4 separate regions of the Homo sapiens genome follow, and all the other regions are linked to region 1. The links are contacts of gene promoters, found by promoter capture Hi-C in blood cells and fetal thymus (Javierre and others, 2016). All regions are on one chromosome and are shown on one strand. Each heading gives the region's core, a stretch centred on a gene start or on the middle of the fragment in contact. The rest is flanking DNA. Distances are from core to core; before and after follow the strand shown. Region 1 holds the start of EIF1AY (eukaryotic translation initiation factor 1A Y-linked). Region 2 has its middle 150 kb from the start of KDM5D. Region 3 overlaps LOC105377225 (a long non-coding RNA gene). Region 4 has its middle 330 kb from the start of PRORY.

The links. The method cuts DNA at HindIII sites, captures the fragments that hold promoters and counts their contacts. A CHiCAGO score of 5 or more calls a contact.
Region 2: a fragment that was not itself captured here is called in contact with the fragment with the promoter of EIF1AY in region 1 in 1 of 17 cell types (fetal thymus); the score reaches 5.7 in fetal thymus.
Region 3: a fragment that was not itself captured here is called in contact with the fragment with the promoter of EIF1AY in region 1 in 1 of 17 cell types (neutrophils); the score reaches 5.5 in neutrophils.
Region 4: a contact is called between a fragment that was not itself captured here and the fragment with the promoter of EIF1AY in region 1, in 1 of 17 cell types (neutrophils). The highest score is 5.3, in neutrophils.

The regions. Positions count from the first base shown.
Region 1 is chrY:20,573,964-20,577,523 of GRCh38, reverse strand. EIF1AY (eukaryotic translation initiation factor 1A Y-linked) reads right to left here and starts at 1,748. Exons shown (of 7, transcript NM_004681.4): 1 at 1,637-1,748. The coding sequence starts at 1,652. TTTY10 (testis expressed transcript, Y-linked 10) reads left to right here and starts at 2,009. Exons shown (of 10, transcript NR_197944.1): 1 at 2,009-2,418. The HindIII fragment of the contact is 11,947 bases long and covers 1-3,560 here.
Region 2 is chrY:19,589,776-19,593,335 of GRCh38, reverse strand. It overlaps the pseudogene TXLNGY. Among named protein-coding and RNA genes, the nearest start is that of KDM5D, 150 kb to the left of the region's middle. The HindIII fragment of the contact is 188 bases long and covers 1,760-1,947 here.
Region 3 is chrY:21,148,851-21,152,410 of GRCh38, reverse strand. It overlaps LOC105377225 (a long non-coding RNA gene), which reads right to left. Exons shown (of 7, transcript XR_007068465.1): 5 at 769-822. Among named protein-coding and RNA genes, the nearest start is that of PRORY, 300 kb to the left of the region's middle. The HindIII fragment of the contact is 3,974 bases long and covers 1-3,560 here.
Region 4 is chrY:21,116,099-21,119,658 of GRCh38, reverse strand. No RefSeq gene overlaps it. Among named protein-coding and RNA genes, the nearest start is that of PRORY, 330 kb to the left of the region's middle. The HindIII fragment of the contact is 6,496 bases long and covers 1-3,560 here.

The DNA.
Region 1 (3,560 bases), core at 499-2,998:
GAGGCACATATGATAAAAAAAAAATTGTTTTCAATTTACCAGGATTAACCAAACCCTGATCATTCCCCTTCTATTGTGATACCATGTAACAGAATCCACTTTAAATTATATTTTAGAGGAATGAGGCTAGGCATGATCATACAAAAATTAAAGTCGTTTAATATTTTATCTCGTTTCCTTTCTAAGATCAAAAAATCCACACTTCCTCTTTAAACAAATCCGACGTGTTTTGGAGATACTCTCTTTATTGAGAACATTTTTAGGCATCACTCAGTTTAAAAGTTCTACCCTACAAGAATAAAGGAAGCCTTACTATTTAAGGATAGAGTCAGGTACAGGGATAATAACATCAGCAAAGATTTAATGGACATTTTGCAAAGGGAGATACTCTGATCTTTAGAGCTGATGGCTTAGAGAACTGGGAATCTCATCACTAGAAATAAAGGTGAGAACAAGATACCTACTGAAGTTGTTCAGTACCATCTGAGAAAATGTTAGTGAAAAAGCATAAGCCTTTGCTAACTCTTTCTAATTAGACTTCTCCCAGAATACACTTTATCCTCCAATAATTTTGCAGTAAAAAATAAAATAAAATAAAATAAAACCTTATTATACACACAACCCGTTAGTGGGTTTTCGGGAGAGCAAAGAGTAATGCCCAGGAAAGACTGCACTGTACTGTCACCAAGTACCTCAAGAGCTGTGTGTCGTGACAGCTAAAAAGAGAAAATGAAACAGATTCCATGCTGCCAACAGGCAAGTAAAAAGAAGACAAATTGGTCTGGGTCCCAGGAAGGAATAATCTAAACAGAGTTTTTGTGGACTATAAAACATGGTCCCCTCCTGTGGAAAATAATATTTTGTTTCCACCTACAGTTTTCTTCAAGCAATTACAAGGGCACTAAAAGTGAGAGATTACCTCAGGTGTATAAAAACGAGAATTTCTTTCAGAAATGACTGAGAAAGGGTTCTACCGAGGTTAGACCTCCTACTTTAGAAGCTGTGAGTAAACTTATTTTCAAGTCTAAGTTTCGTGTGAAAGTTTAGCCTCAGAATGAAGGGAACGTTGATATCTTTACTCCCACAATATTTATCGGATACGGAAGTTGAAAACCTGCCTAAATAGGTAACAAATCTTCTGCAAAAGAATGTTACACTCTATAAAGGGATGGGGTAGAGTAAAACGCCAGAAATGAACCTAAACATGCTTCAAGGCTTCCCCACTGTTTAACAAGGAAAAGGGAGTATCCTTAGCAATACTTTTAACTGTCCAGATAGGTAAGTCTTCAAAGTTAAGAACCGCTTCCAGGAAAGTAGCAGGGAAGTGTTTGCATGTGCCTATTCTGGAAAGCCAGGCCGTCCGGTTAAGGTCCCTCAACCGTCCCTACCTATACGTTTTCCGTCTGGCGTGAAATCAGCAGCAAAAGCCCGCTATCTTCCGAAGGAGGCCCCACAAAAATGGCGTCTGTCCCACCCCAATGTGACCAAATAGGGCATTCCCAGCTCCTTTCCCGAACACAGTGCTGGGGTCGCAGTGGCCAGTACCGCCGTTAGAACAGTCACTGCGGCCTGGAACAGGCGTCGGGGTTACTGGCAGAGCAAGCCGAGGTATAGTCCCAGAGGCTTACAGCAGTACCTTTATTCTTGGGCATGGCGGTGATGACAGCCTCGTGAGACCTCTTCCGACTCCTTTCTGGCGGTTACTACTCTAAGAGCCGACTGAACTAAGATGCAGCAGGTGGGTGCGCAGAAGAGGCTGGCTACAGAGCTCTCTAATAAACTGCTGACGCGCACTCTCTGGCGTCACCAAAAGGCGACGCAGCTGATTACGATGCTTTTCCCCGCCTCTCTTCGGCTGAGGCACGGCCAAATGACTGACACCTAGTAGACTCCATCAGGATACCGGAGAGTTTGCTGCAGGATGAATAAACAGGAAGCGGGGCGGGACTCAGCATGGAGAAGGTGGAGTCAAGGATGAAATGGGCGGGGCCCTGGAGTATTCTCCTTTGCTAAAAAACGGTCTTCCAGTTTCAGAAGTTCGTGGGTCATTTAACTGTAAACGCCTAAATTTTAAGAGAGCCCTTACTCTTATACAGTGAATTTGGAGGACTGGCTTAGGACAAGGCCCTCTATGTTCAGAATGTTTATCACTTTTCTCTCTTTTTTTTTTTTTTTTTTGACAACGAAGTTTCGCTCTTGTTGCCCATGCTGGAGTGCAGGGGCGCGATCTGCCCGTCTAATTTTTGTATTTTTAGTAGAGATGGGGTTTCACCATGTTGGCCAGGCTCTCAAACCCCTGACCTAGTGATCCTCCCGCCTCTGCCGCCCAAATTCCTGGGATTGCAGTAGTGAGCCACCGCGCCCGGCCTATTTTTTTCAGTCTTATCTTCTCTACCTCACCACCTCACAGTAAAGCATGTAAGTACAGAGGCCGCATCTGTTGCTTACAATTGCTAGCACCCAGCGGAATACTGACAAAAAGTAGACAGTAAATATATACAGGAAATGGAAAGTAAATATACATAGGAAGGAGTGAGACTAAGCATCTGAATCTTATAATAAATCATGGCTTAACCGAATGTCTCAAATGGACTGGCTGTGGAGGTCAAATTATTTCAAGACAAATTCCATTTGATTATGGTATACAATCATTTAATTTACTGGATTTGTTGTGTGTGTACTATTATGTTTAGAATCTTAGCATCTGTGTTAAGATATATTGGCTTGTATCGTGTGATGACTTTGACTTTAGGATCAATATAATCCCGGCTTCACAGAATGAACTGTGTAGTGTCCCTTTTTCTTCTGTGTTTTTGGACACATTCGAGGATTGATGTAAATTTTTTAAATGGTCCTAGGCCTTAGTTTGGATTATGAATTCGTGCTGTATTTATTCCCAAGTCAGTTCTGGTAGTTTGTATGTACCAGAAATTTGTTCATTTATTCTAAATTATAAAACTTGTTGGGCGTATAATTGGCCATCATATACAAAGTATAGTATCTTCCTAATCCTTTTTTTTCCCTTTCTGCAAGGTAAATAGTATGTATGTATCAGGACTTTGTTCATTTATTCTAAATTATCTTACTTGTTGGGCATATAATTGGCCATCATATACATAGTGTAGTATCCTCCTAATCCTTTTTTTTTCTTTCTTTTTTTCTGCAAGGTAAGTGGTAGTACCCTGATCATCACTACTGGTTTTAAGGAATTTAAGTCTTCATGGTTTTGTTTTTAAAAGCCTAGTGATGAAGCCATAACATTAAAAATAAAATTTTCTCTGAACCCAGAAGTCCTCTCCACAAAGACAGTAGAGAATGAAATCAGTTTTACTGTTAAAAATATGAAATATGAATTTAATGTACATTGTAGAAAATCAACCAAGAGATTACAAAGTCAAAAACAAATCTCGCCTTTTATATAGCTAAGCATCAAGGTAGTCTTCAAGATAGACAAATTTTCTTAAAAGAAATTACTGGTTGATCAGTAGTCTTTAATAAAGAAAATTTAACGGCACCATTTGTCACATACCCTTAGTTTACAATGGTAACAGGGGACCACA
Region 2 (3,560 bases), core at 604-3,103, 980 kb after region 1:
GCTACTGCTATGTGAGTTCATTTATTGCTCCCATGAGGTGTTGCTTTTAAACTATAATTCCTCCCCCTTATTTATGACCAGAAATCTCTCATTTAAAAGCAAGCAGCTTTTTCTAAGTAGATAATTAGAGAAAAGCAAATGCCCTACTATAAAATAAGTATCATCTGCTGATCCAGATATTCACTATACTATAATTAAATATAAGTAAGATGCTGCTCCACAGTTAGTTTCTTCCACATTATTTTCCCAAAAGTCATCCTCACTGGTTAGGCAGTATACCATCCTACATCAGCCTGAAGATCTTACAGCCTACTTTCTGAGTTACACTTTCAATTTTATAAGAGGGAAGGGACAAACTAAATCATTATTTTACAAAGTTTACTTTCAAAGTCTTACTAGGATACAAGTGTCAACAGACCTTTACCTAAACAGTTATCAGTACAGTCTAAATATTGACAGTGCTATCTACTTTTATTATATTTAAATCCAAGATTTCAAAAGCAAGAAAAATAAATACAAACCTTACAAGTAAGAACCTATTTCACAAGCTGTCCTATGTTCTTGAGTTTACTGTGATGAGGGTGATCCAGCACCATCAAAATAATACTCCAACCATACACCCCCTAGCAATACCACAAAGTCAGACAAATTCCTCTGATGGATGGCAGATTCTTTCCAGGATCTCTGCTTTTTACTTCCATTATTGAGACAAGCTGTCATACTTAATCCTTCTTCTGTTATAATCAGCCTAGCTGTAAGTAATATTCTAAAGTATTTAGCAACCAAATAGCCAAAGATGGCAGAATGTAGTTTAACAATCTATCCTATTAACTTTTATAGTAGAGCTCTACAGTGTGTTTTTCTTTCTCAAACTCACACTGACTATGGCTACCAGTTTCTTCATTTCAGCTAAGATTTTCACTCATTACCAAAAAAGGACATGATAACCAACTACACCAAAAGCCAACAAAAATATCTGGCAACTGTGAGCTTTTTAAGCAGGAGAGCTGTGAACATAAAAACCAATGTCATCTAGATTCCCTGTGATCAAGTATACAGTAGACTAAGGTAGAGCTTATCCTTGAATCTGAAACCAAAATTTACATAGAGTGAGTCTTTAGAGAGTTACCTCACAGGCAGCATCAGCTCAAGCAAAACAAAAAGCAAGGGATCTCTGTGTTAAGATGTCTACAAAGTTGTCTGCTTAGGAATCTGATCTACCAGCACAAGTGTACCTGAGCCAGTTAACAAGAAGCCATTATAGCAACTAATTCCCATTAAAAGACATAGAGCAAGAATTTATTTCAAGTAGTTACAAGGCGATTATAAAAGCAGCCTAAGTAGTTCCTGAAATACAGTAAAATAAACCAACTAACCTTTAATGTCTTATTTTGACATTAATTTTGCTGAAGTTCCCTGCAAAGAGATTCTAGCTTGCTTCTTGCCAAGATGGTCTTGCTGTATTCACTCTGCAAGTGAACTTTCTCTTTGACAATCTGAGCTTGCTTATTCTGCAGAATCTTCATTTGCCTCTGAACATTCCTGCTTTCCTCCAGCTAAAATTAATAACCACTTTACATTTAGGAAGTATAGTAATCTGAGTTATAGCTCTAAGCACTGCAATTACAGCCATGGAACATTTTATGTTCCCCTCTTTTCTAGTGACAGGAAAGTATGTAAATAATTTTGTGTAGCAAGAAAAGCAATCTTAATCTCCATTTTTTATTAATAGGAAAAAGTAACCTTTTAATCAAAAGCTTATTTCAGACTAAAATGATATAGTTTTCCTATTCTACAAGAGCTACTTTATTGAAACAGCTACCAAAATTAGAACACAATAAGCAGTGCTCAAGATTCATCAGTCAAGTCAGTTTCAGATTTATAATAAATGATTCCAAATTATACTACTAGATAACATAGTGGTCATCCTAATTCTTGAGTAAAGCTTTTATGAAAAATAAAAAATTGACGAAGCAAACATTTCAAGAGAGAATGAAATATCAAGAAACCTATCAAACATCCTTGCAGGCAATATTCTTATAGGTATTAAAAACACCTTTATTGGCCAGGGATGGTGGCTCATAACTGTAATCTCACTCAACACTCTGGGAAGTTGAGGTGGGAGGATCACTTGAGCCCAGGAGTTCATGACTCCATTTCTACAAAAATTTTTTTAAAATTAGCCATGCATGCTTGTGCATGTCTGTAGTGCCAGGTACTCAGGAGGCCGATACAGGAGAATTGTTTGAGCCTAGGAGTTCAAGACTGTAGTGAACTGTGACTGAACCATGGTATACCAGCCTTAGCGACAGTGCAAGACTCTGACTAAAATAAATTAATTAAATAAATAAATAATGCAGTATTTCAGTCACTTCCACCTCTACTGTGGCCAATTTTACAAAGTGCGTTTTCAGATCTACTAAATCCAAATCTTCAATTTGACAATTCTTGTGTGATTTCTATGTGTTTGAGGACCACCCTAGATGACCATGCTACAGTATGCAACCAAATTGCTCTTTCTTCCCCAACCCTTTCATGGCTGACAGCTAGGAAATCTCCTAACCTTCTAGTACACTGCTTTTTCTACCAGAAATTCAATGCTTTTGTCAGTCTTTCTTTTATCTTCTTTGTTGCTGTCTTCTTTTTCTGGCATTTCTCGCATGAGTTTCCTCAGGCTGATGTAACAATTGAGACTGGCTTCCATATCCAATGGAAGCATTCCTTTCCTGAACATAGCAAGCAACAATTTTATTTTCTGCTGTCTTTGCTTTTGGACAGTTCTAAGCTATTTACATTTATGCTCAGGGATTCCTGCTTCTCAAAATATCAGAAGGTGCCAGGCTGCTGCTAAGTATGTGGCACTTGAAGATGCCAGCTAAGTGGAGGTAAATATGGACCACATGAGAGAATAGTAACTATTATTGTTACAGCTTTATTCTTGGAGTTGATTATTAACTAAATATTTGTTTTGTGCATTTACAACATGGAGTTGCTGCTTTAACACTATTTGAAAGTGTACAAAAACTGTCAGTGATAATTCCCATAAATGTTTCACAAAACAGAATTTTAGCATTTATTTAATTATAAAAATTTCCCATGATTCTTCAAAAAGTTCTGTATCTTTTCCATTATTTGCTTTACAAAGTCTAGTAGGGTTTCCCTGTTGAGAATGTTTCCATAGTCTCCAAAAAAAGAATTTTGTTTCAAATCGTATAGTTCAAAACAAACTCTTCTATAGAAGAGGTGAATTTCCCTGGAAGATGGAAAAAAGAACAATGCTTGGCATACAGTAGATATTAAATAAATATTTCCTGAGCCATAGTACAATTTTACTAAACAATCTTATCTAACTCACAATTTTAATCAAGAATGGTTAGAGCTTGAATCTGCAGAATTCCTTCGGAAAATTTTAAATACAGAAACCACTTCCTCCCAATTGTCAGGCATCTTAAGCATACAAAAAAAAAAAACTGCTGATCTAGCATATTAAGTTTTAGGAAATTTATTTCACATTTAAAAAAGTATTATTATGTTCTATACATCATTTCATAAGATGAAGT
Region 3 (3,560 bases), core at 431-2,930, 570 kb before region 1:
CAATGGCCTTACAAGGCCTTATCTCCTTGTCAGATGAGTTAGCCAAAAATTCTGGAAGAAATGACCCCTTCACAAACCTCATCAAAAGGAGATTCGGTAAATGGAAAGGGCTTATGTCTTCAATATTAACCTGTCTTTTAATTGTCATAAGTGTACTCATTTTTGTAGGATGCTGCATCATACCCTGTATCTGTGAGATAATGTCAAGACTTACAGAAACAGCTCTCACATAACCCTCCCCTATCCCTCTTCCTCAATACTCAGAGAAGCTCTTGTCCCTATATGATCAAGAGGAGAAACAAGGCTAAATCATGCTACAAAAACTTGAAGAGGAAGAATTGTCAAAAGACAAATGGGGAAATTGTTAGGAATGATAATTTCCTCTTCAAAAGGTTTAATTGCGTAATGTTATTTTCCTTTGTTCAAAATCCTAACCTCCTTGTACTCTTGTTTCCAGCCTGCAAACCACCCTCCCACTCCAGTTGCACCCTGCCATGCCCAGACATGTTCAGACATGCCTTGTACTGCAACAAACAGATCCCTCCTACCTGCTTCTTCTCTTACAAATTGTGCATTTGCCCCATTTAGAAAAGTTTAATTCTTAGCCAACCCAAATCAGTTTAGATTGTGCAGTTCAATCCCAGCCAATAAGGGAAGGACACAGGGACAGGAACTGTATTACGGATAAAAATCCCTTCTCTGTTTTATTCGGGGTGCTCTTGCAATTGTGACTGAGGTAGGCAGCAACCTTCTGCAGAAGCAAATTACCTTGCTGGGAAAACTTTTTGCCTGTGTGCTTGTTCTTCTTTGCAGCAGTGAGCACTTGTTTGTAAGGGAGCAAAAGAGATATTTTTAAAACAATAATAAAAAATGCAAACAGGATACTCAGAAATACACTAAATAAAGCAGAGGAAATAAAATAAACACAAAATTTGAGGACAATTTTAAAAAGTGATATTATACACAAACAGAAAAATTAAATATAGAAGAAAGTCCAAGTGACATACAAGAGAACATAAAGATATTCAAATATTGGGGATAAAAAACATAAAATCTTATTTAATAATATTATAACTAAAAGCAGTCCAAATACTGGAGAAAATGTAGACATACAGATATGGAAAGCTCCAGAAATCACAAATAAATTTAACCACAAAACATTTATCTTGATGTGAATTATAGTCTAACCATCCAGCAAAAGACAACACATTTTTAAAACACAAAAGAAGTGTCAAGTCAAATATAAGAACTTCCCTTATTGAACTAAGACCTAATTTTTCAGCAGAAAATTTAAAGGGAAGAACATAAAGGAAAGGTATTACCAAGAAGCTGAGTGAAAAAAAAAATCAACTTAGAATTCTACACATTGCAAAACTATCATTCAGAAATAAAAATAAATGAAGTATTTTCTGCTAGAAATTTAGAAAGAATTCCTGCATCTGAAGTAAATGGTCTACATCTACCATTATGGAAATACTTTAAACTAACACTTCTTAGAAGAAAAGATACAGAAGTGAGAAATAAAAAATGAATCACATTTTATCACTATGGACAAACACAACATTCCAAAGATAAGCATTAAAAATGGTATACAAAGACATACAAAAATATCAAAAACTTAACAAGATGATAGAATAAAGCCACACCTATCAAAAAGTATTTTAAATGTAAATGGCTTAACTTCCACCATTAAAAGAAAAGATTGGCTACAGTATATAGTTGCTTCTTCTATTTTAAAAAGTCACAATAAGGACAAATTTCTTAATTTTAAATGCTACATATTTTCAGAGCTTTTTTGAATTAATGTGAAACCCACAGCTCATTACTTAATAATCACTGAGTATACATATATTTCAAATACACAGAATTCCTGAGAAATAAATCAGCTTAGTGGGCCAGATACTACCATTGTAAAGTCTATTTGCTATGAAAAATCTATTTCAGTGAAAAGAGAACTGCCCAACTATTCCTATAAAACACGGTTGCTGTCTCACCAAAGCACCTTAATGTAGGATTTTCTCTTTGTCTCTATTAGTACCCCAGGTTTTTGTCCTACATCCAGGAAACTTAGGGAACATTGACACAAAGATAGGGTTGGAGTGAAAGTTTGATAAGTGAAATAAATGAAGCTCTTCACAGCAGATAAGGGAGTCCAAGTGAATTGCCAGATACAGCTGCATTCAAAAACTTTCATAAGATATGCCTCTCATCTCTGTAGCAGTTTGAGTAACTTCTTTTACCAGTTAAGTTCTCTGTGCCACTCCCCTTATCTTATGCAGCTGTGGAAATATCTCTAGGCAAACACAAAGCACCACTTCTTTTGTTTGTATAACTATTGGTTTGTTTTCAATTAGCCTGCCTCCTCACTGTGCAATTTACCACTATGTATGTGCTTGAAAAGGGGAGGAAACATTTTCCTGGGAGTTTGCTAATTATATAAAGTTTCTTATCTGTTGCAGGTACAGCTCATGTTTTTCCAGAATTATCTTTCTTTTCTTCTACCTCATTCTCCTTTTAGGAGTGGAAACTCTAACTGCTGTTGGGGAGATTGGATATTGATTTCTGAGTAATTCCAGCCGAAGAGGGGTGTTGTGTGGGAAAACAGCAGCTAAGACTCCTTCAGGGGCTGATTTAAGGTGCCTCAAATAAAAGGCTTGTTGATGTCTCATTTTATTTGCATTACCATTTGGAGCTTGATAGCCTCCAGGTGAAAAAAAAAAAAAAATTGGTCGGGTGCGGTGGCTTACTTCTGTAATCCCTGCACTTTTAGAAGCCTAGGCAGGCAGATCATCTGAGATCAGGAGTTCAAGACCAGCTTGACCAATATAGTGAAACCCTATCTCTACTAAAAATACAAAAAAATTAGCCAGATGTGGTGGCATGTGCCTTTAGTCCCAGCAACTTGGATGGCTGAGACAGGAGAATTGCTTGAACTCAGGAGGCAGAGGTTGCAGTGAGCCGAGGTCATGCCACTCCACTCCAGCTAGGGTGACAGAGCAAGGCTCTGTCAAAAAAAAAAAAAAAGAAAGAAAGAAGGAAGGAAGGAAAGGAAGGAAGGAAGGAAGGAAGGAAGGAAGGAAGGAAGGAAGGAAAGAAAGAAAGAAAGAAAGAAAGAAAGAAAGAAAGAAAGAAAGAAAGAAAGAAAGAAAAGAAAGAAAGGGAAAGAAAGAAAAAAATGTGGGTTATTAGAGAACATGTATTAAAATTATACAAATGGGGTAAGAACAACTTTTAAAATTCTGAGGCTTCTGACACACCCTGATAATTGCTAGCAATAGTTATGCTTTATAAGATTTGGGTGCACGGGCCATGCTTTGTTGAGCTTCCTTTTTCTTATGTTCAGCCCCCAGAAAAACTTTGGGGCTTTAGGTTACCTGGCAGAATTTGTAGAATAATTACCTAGAACTAGAATATTTTACCAGATTTTCACGTTACCCATCCCTTTCTATTTCCTCTGAGCTGCAGCCAGAAATCACTGGCTGGTTACAGAAATAGACAGGATTATTTTAAAATGCAGCTCAGAACTTAAAAACAACAAATGAGACTAGAAGTTAATGACA
Region 4 (3,560 bases), core at 785-3,284, 540 kb before region 1:
TTCAGTGGGCTTTTCCCAAACTCCCTGAGGTTGAATTAAAAGGAAAATTTCAGCTGGGTGTGATGGCTCACACCTGTAATCCCGGCATTTGAGAGGCCAAGGTGGGTGGATCACAATATCAGGAGATTGAGGCCATCCTGAATAGCATGATGAAAGCCTGTCTCTACTGAAAAAAAAAAAAAATTAGCCGGGCTTGGTGGCAGGTGCATGTAGTCCCAGCCACTCAGGAGGCTGAGGCAGGAGAATGGCATGAAACTGGGAGGCAGAGATTGCAATGAACCAAGATCATGCCACTGCACTCCAGCCTAGGCGACAGAGCAAGACTCCATCTCAGAAAAACTTTCCTCTCATTCCTTAGTATTTCAATCACTGTGGCACTCTACTGAGTTTCTAAACATATGGAATAGGTGTTGGGCTCTTCTATAAAGGAGCAGAGAAACATGCTGGACCTATTTACCTATGTATTGATTATCAGGGCCTGGTGCATTTGTGAAAAAAGACAAGAAGTTACATACAGGAAAATACTTAGTAGGATATAGAGAGTCATGTCTTTGCAGTAAAACATTACCACAAACTTGGTGGCAGACAACAACATAAAATGTATTTTCTTACAGTTCTGTATGAAAAAAAATTCACACATCATTATCCCAGGGTGGAAATCAAGGTGCTGGCATGACTGTGCTCCTTTCAGAGGCTCTAGGAAAGAATTCATTCCATTTCTCTTTACCATCTTGTGCCTGTTGCCATTCCTTGGCTTGTGGCTGCATACTTCAGCTTTGGGTATTATTTTTACATCACTTTTTCTCTGTGTTTGTGTTATGTGAGCCCCTATGTCTCTCTTTTATAAGTGACATGAAATAGGGGAAGAGAAGTTCTGGGTAAAGAAGGGTGGGTATCTGGTGAGGGCTCTAGCTCTGAGGCTATGCCCATTGACCTAGGTGAAAACAAGAAATCTTGCCTTTGCTCCCAAATGTTACATTTCTCAAGACCTCTCTGGCCCACCATGCCCCCATCCTGTGCCTGTAAAAACCCTGAAACCCTAGCAGGCAGAGATGTACAAGTGGCTGGACATCAACAGAAACACACCAGTGGAGGAACACACAAGTGAATAGATATTGAGAGGACATTGACAGCACACTGACAGGCATTGGCATGCCAGAATGCCATCAAACATTAGAACAATGTGAAGTTTGGCCCAGGTAGTAGGAGATTCTGGGTCTCTGAACGGCGAGACTCCTGGGAAAACCTTTCCACTCCATCGTCTTCTGGCATTCCCCATCTGCTGAGAGCTACCTCCACTCAATAAAACCTTGCACTCATTCTCCAAGTCCAGGTGTGATTCAATTCTTCTGGTACACCAAGATGAGAACCTGAGATACAGAAAGCCCTCTGTCCTTGTGACAAGGTAGAGGGTCTAAGTGAGCTGGTCAACACAAACTACCAACACAAGTTACCAATAGATGGCAAAACTGAAAATTTACATAGTAGCACATGCTCACTGGGGCTTCAGGAGCTGTAAAAATTCAACCCTAGATGCTGCTGTGGGGTCAGAATTCCACAACTGGTTCATCTGTATGCTCCCTTAGAGATATGAGCAGTGGGGGCACTGAAGAAGTGAGCACTCCCCCTGTCACATGCCCTGTGTGTGGGACAAGGGAATCTTTTCTCTTTCACAAGAAAAGTCATTGTGGCATCCAGGGTACACATGGATAATCCAGGATAATCTTGCATTTCAAGATTCTTCATTGTAACTGTAAAGACCTTTTAGCAATAAGGAACCATTACAGGGAGAAAGAGTAAAAAGTTAATATCTTTGGAGGGCCCATTTTTCAAACTATCTCACAGGATTTGAAATAAAAATTTCTGGATAAGAAGAGAGATCTAGTCAAAGTCTTTAACATTATTTCAGAAATTCAGGGTTGGGTGCAGTGGCACAGGCCTGTAATTTCAGCACTGTGGGAGGCCAAGGTGGGTGGATTACTTGAGGTCCGGAGTTTAGGACAAGCCTGGCAAACATTATGAAACCTTGTCTCCATGAAAAAAATAGAAAAATTAGGCATGGTCATTCATGCCTGTAGTCTCAGCTACCCAGGAGGCTGAGGTGGAAACTTGCTTGGAACCAGAAGGCAGAAGTTGCGGTGAGCTGAGATCATGCTACTGCACTCCAGAATGGGTGACAAAGCAAGAGCCTGTCTCAAAAACAAAACAAAACAAAAAACAAATAAAAAGGCTAACACATGTAAAAATATGTTTAACATCAGTAATCCTAATCATCAAGGAAACACAAATTAAAACTATAGTGAGATATCACCTCATGTCTGTTAGAAAGACTATGATTAAAAACACACACAAATAATAACATGTTGGTGACAATGTGGAGGAAAGAAAACCCTTGTACTCTTGGTGGGAATATAAATTAGTGCAGCCACAGTGGAAAGCTGTATAGACATATCTCAATAAATTAAAAATAGAACTATAATATAATCCAGCAATGTCCTTATTAGATATCTCCAAAGGCTAATGATATCAATATGTGGAAAATATATCTGCTGTCTCATGTTCATTGTAGCATTATTCACAATAGCCAAAATACAGAATCAACCTATGTAATACTCTTCAACCCTAAAATATAAGAAATACTCTTCAACCTTAAAATATGAGAAAATCTTGCCATTTTTTACAATGTGATGAACAAAAAAGGAGGTTATATTAAGTAAAGTAAGCAAGGTACAGAAAGATAAATATTACATGATATCACTTATATGTAGACTGAAAAGTTTGAGCTTGTAGAAGTAGAGAGTAAAGCAGTGGTTACCAGAGGCTGGGAGAGATGGGTGGGGAGAAGAATGGGAAGGAGTTCATCAAAGTTTCAGTTAGTCAGTGCAGATGAGTTTTAGAGATCTATTGCATAGTATAGTGACTATAGTGAGGAACATATATTTCAAAATAGCTAAAATAATAGATTTTAAATGTTTTTACCCAATTAGCCTGATTTATTCATTTAACAACATATATAGAGAGATGTGTGTATATACACAGAGAGAGAGAAAGAGAGAGGGCAAAACATGGTATTATACCTTAACCTTGTATACAATTTTTCGTGCATTAACATTTTTAGTTTTAAAATGCAAAAATTTTAAAGTAAAATTCTGGTTACCAGAGGCCTAGGATGGGGGAGAAGTGGGGAAATGCTGATCAAACAACATATAATTGTTAAGTTAGGCAGAATGAATAAGCTCAAGAGATCTATCATAGAACATGATGACTATAGTAAAAAATAACAAATTATATGCTTAAAAATTGCTAAGAAAAAACATAATTCAACAATACATTTAAAAGATTGTTCATCATGACAAAGTGAGATTTATCCAATGGATGCAAGGATTCTTCAACATATGCAAATCAGTCAATGTGATAAATCTTACCAACAAGATGAAAAACAACCCCCCAAAATTATACAATCTTTTCAATTGATTCTGAAAATTATTTGATGAAGTGCATTATCTGTTTATGACTAAGATCCTCAAAAAACTGAGCATAGAAGAAACATACCTCAATAC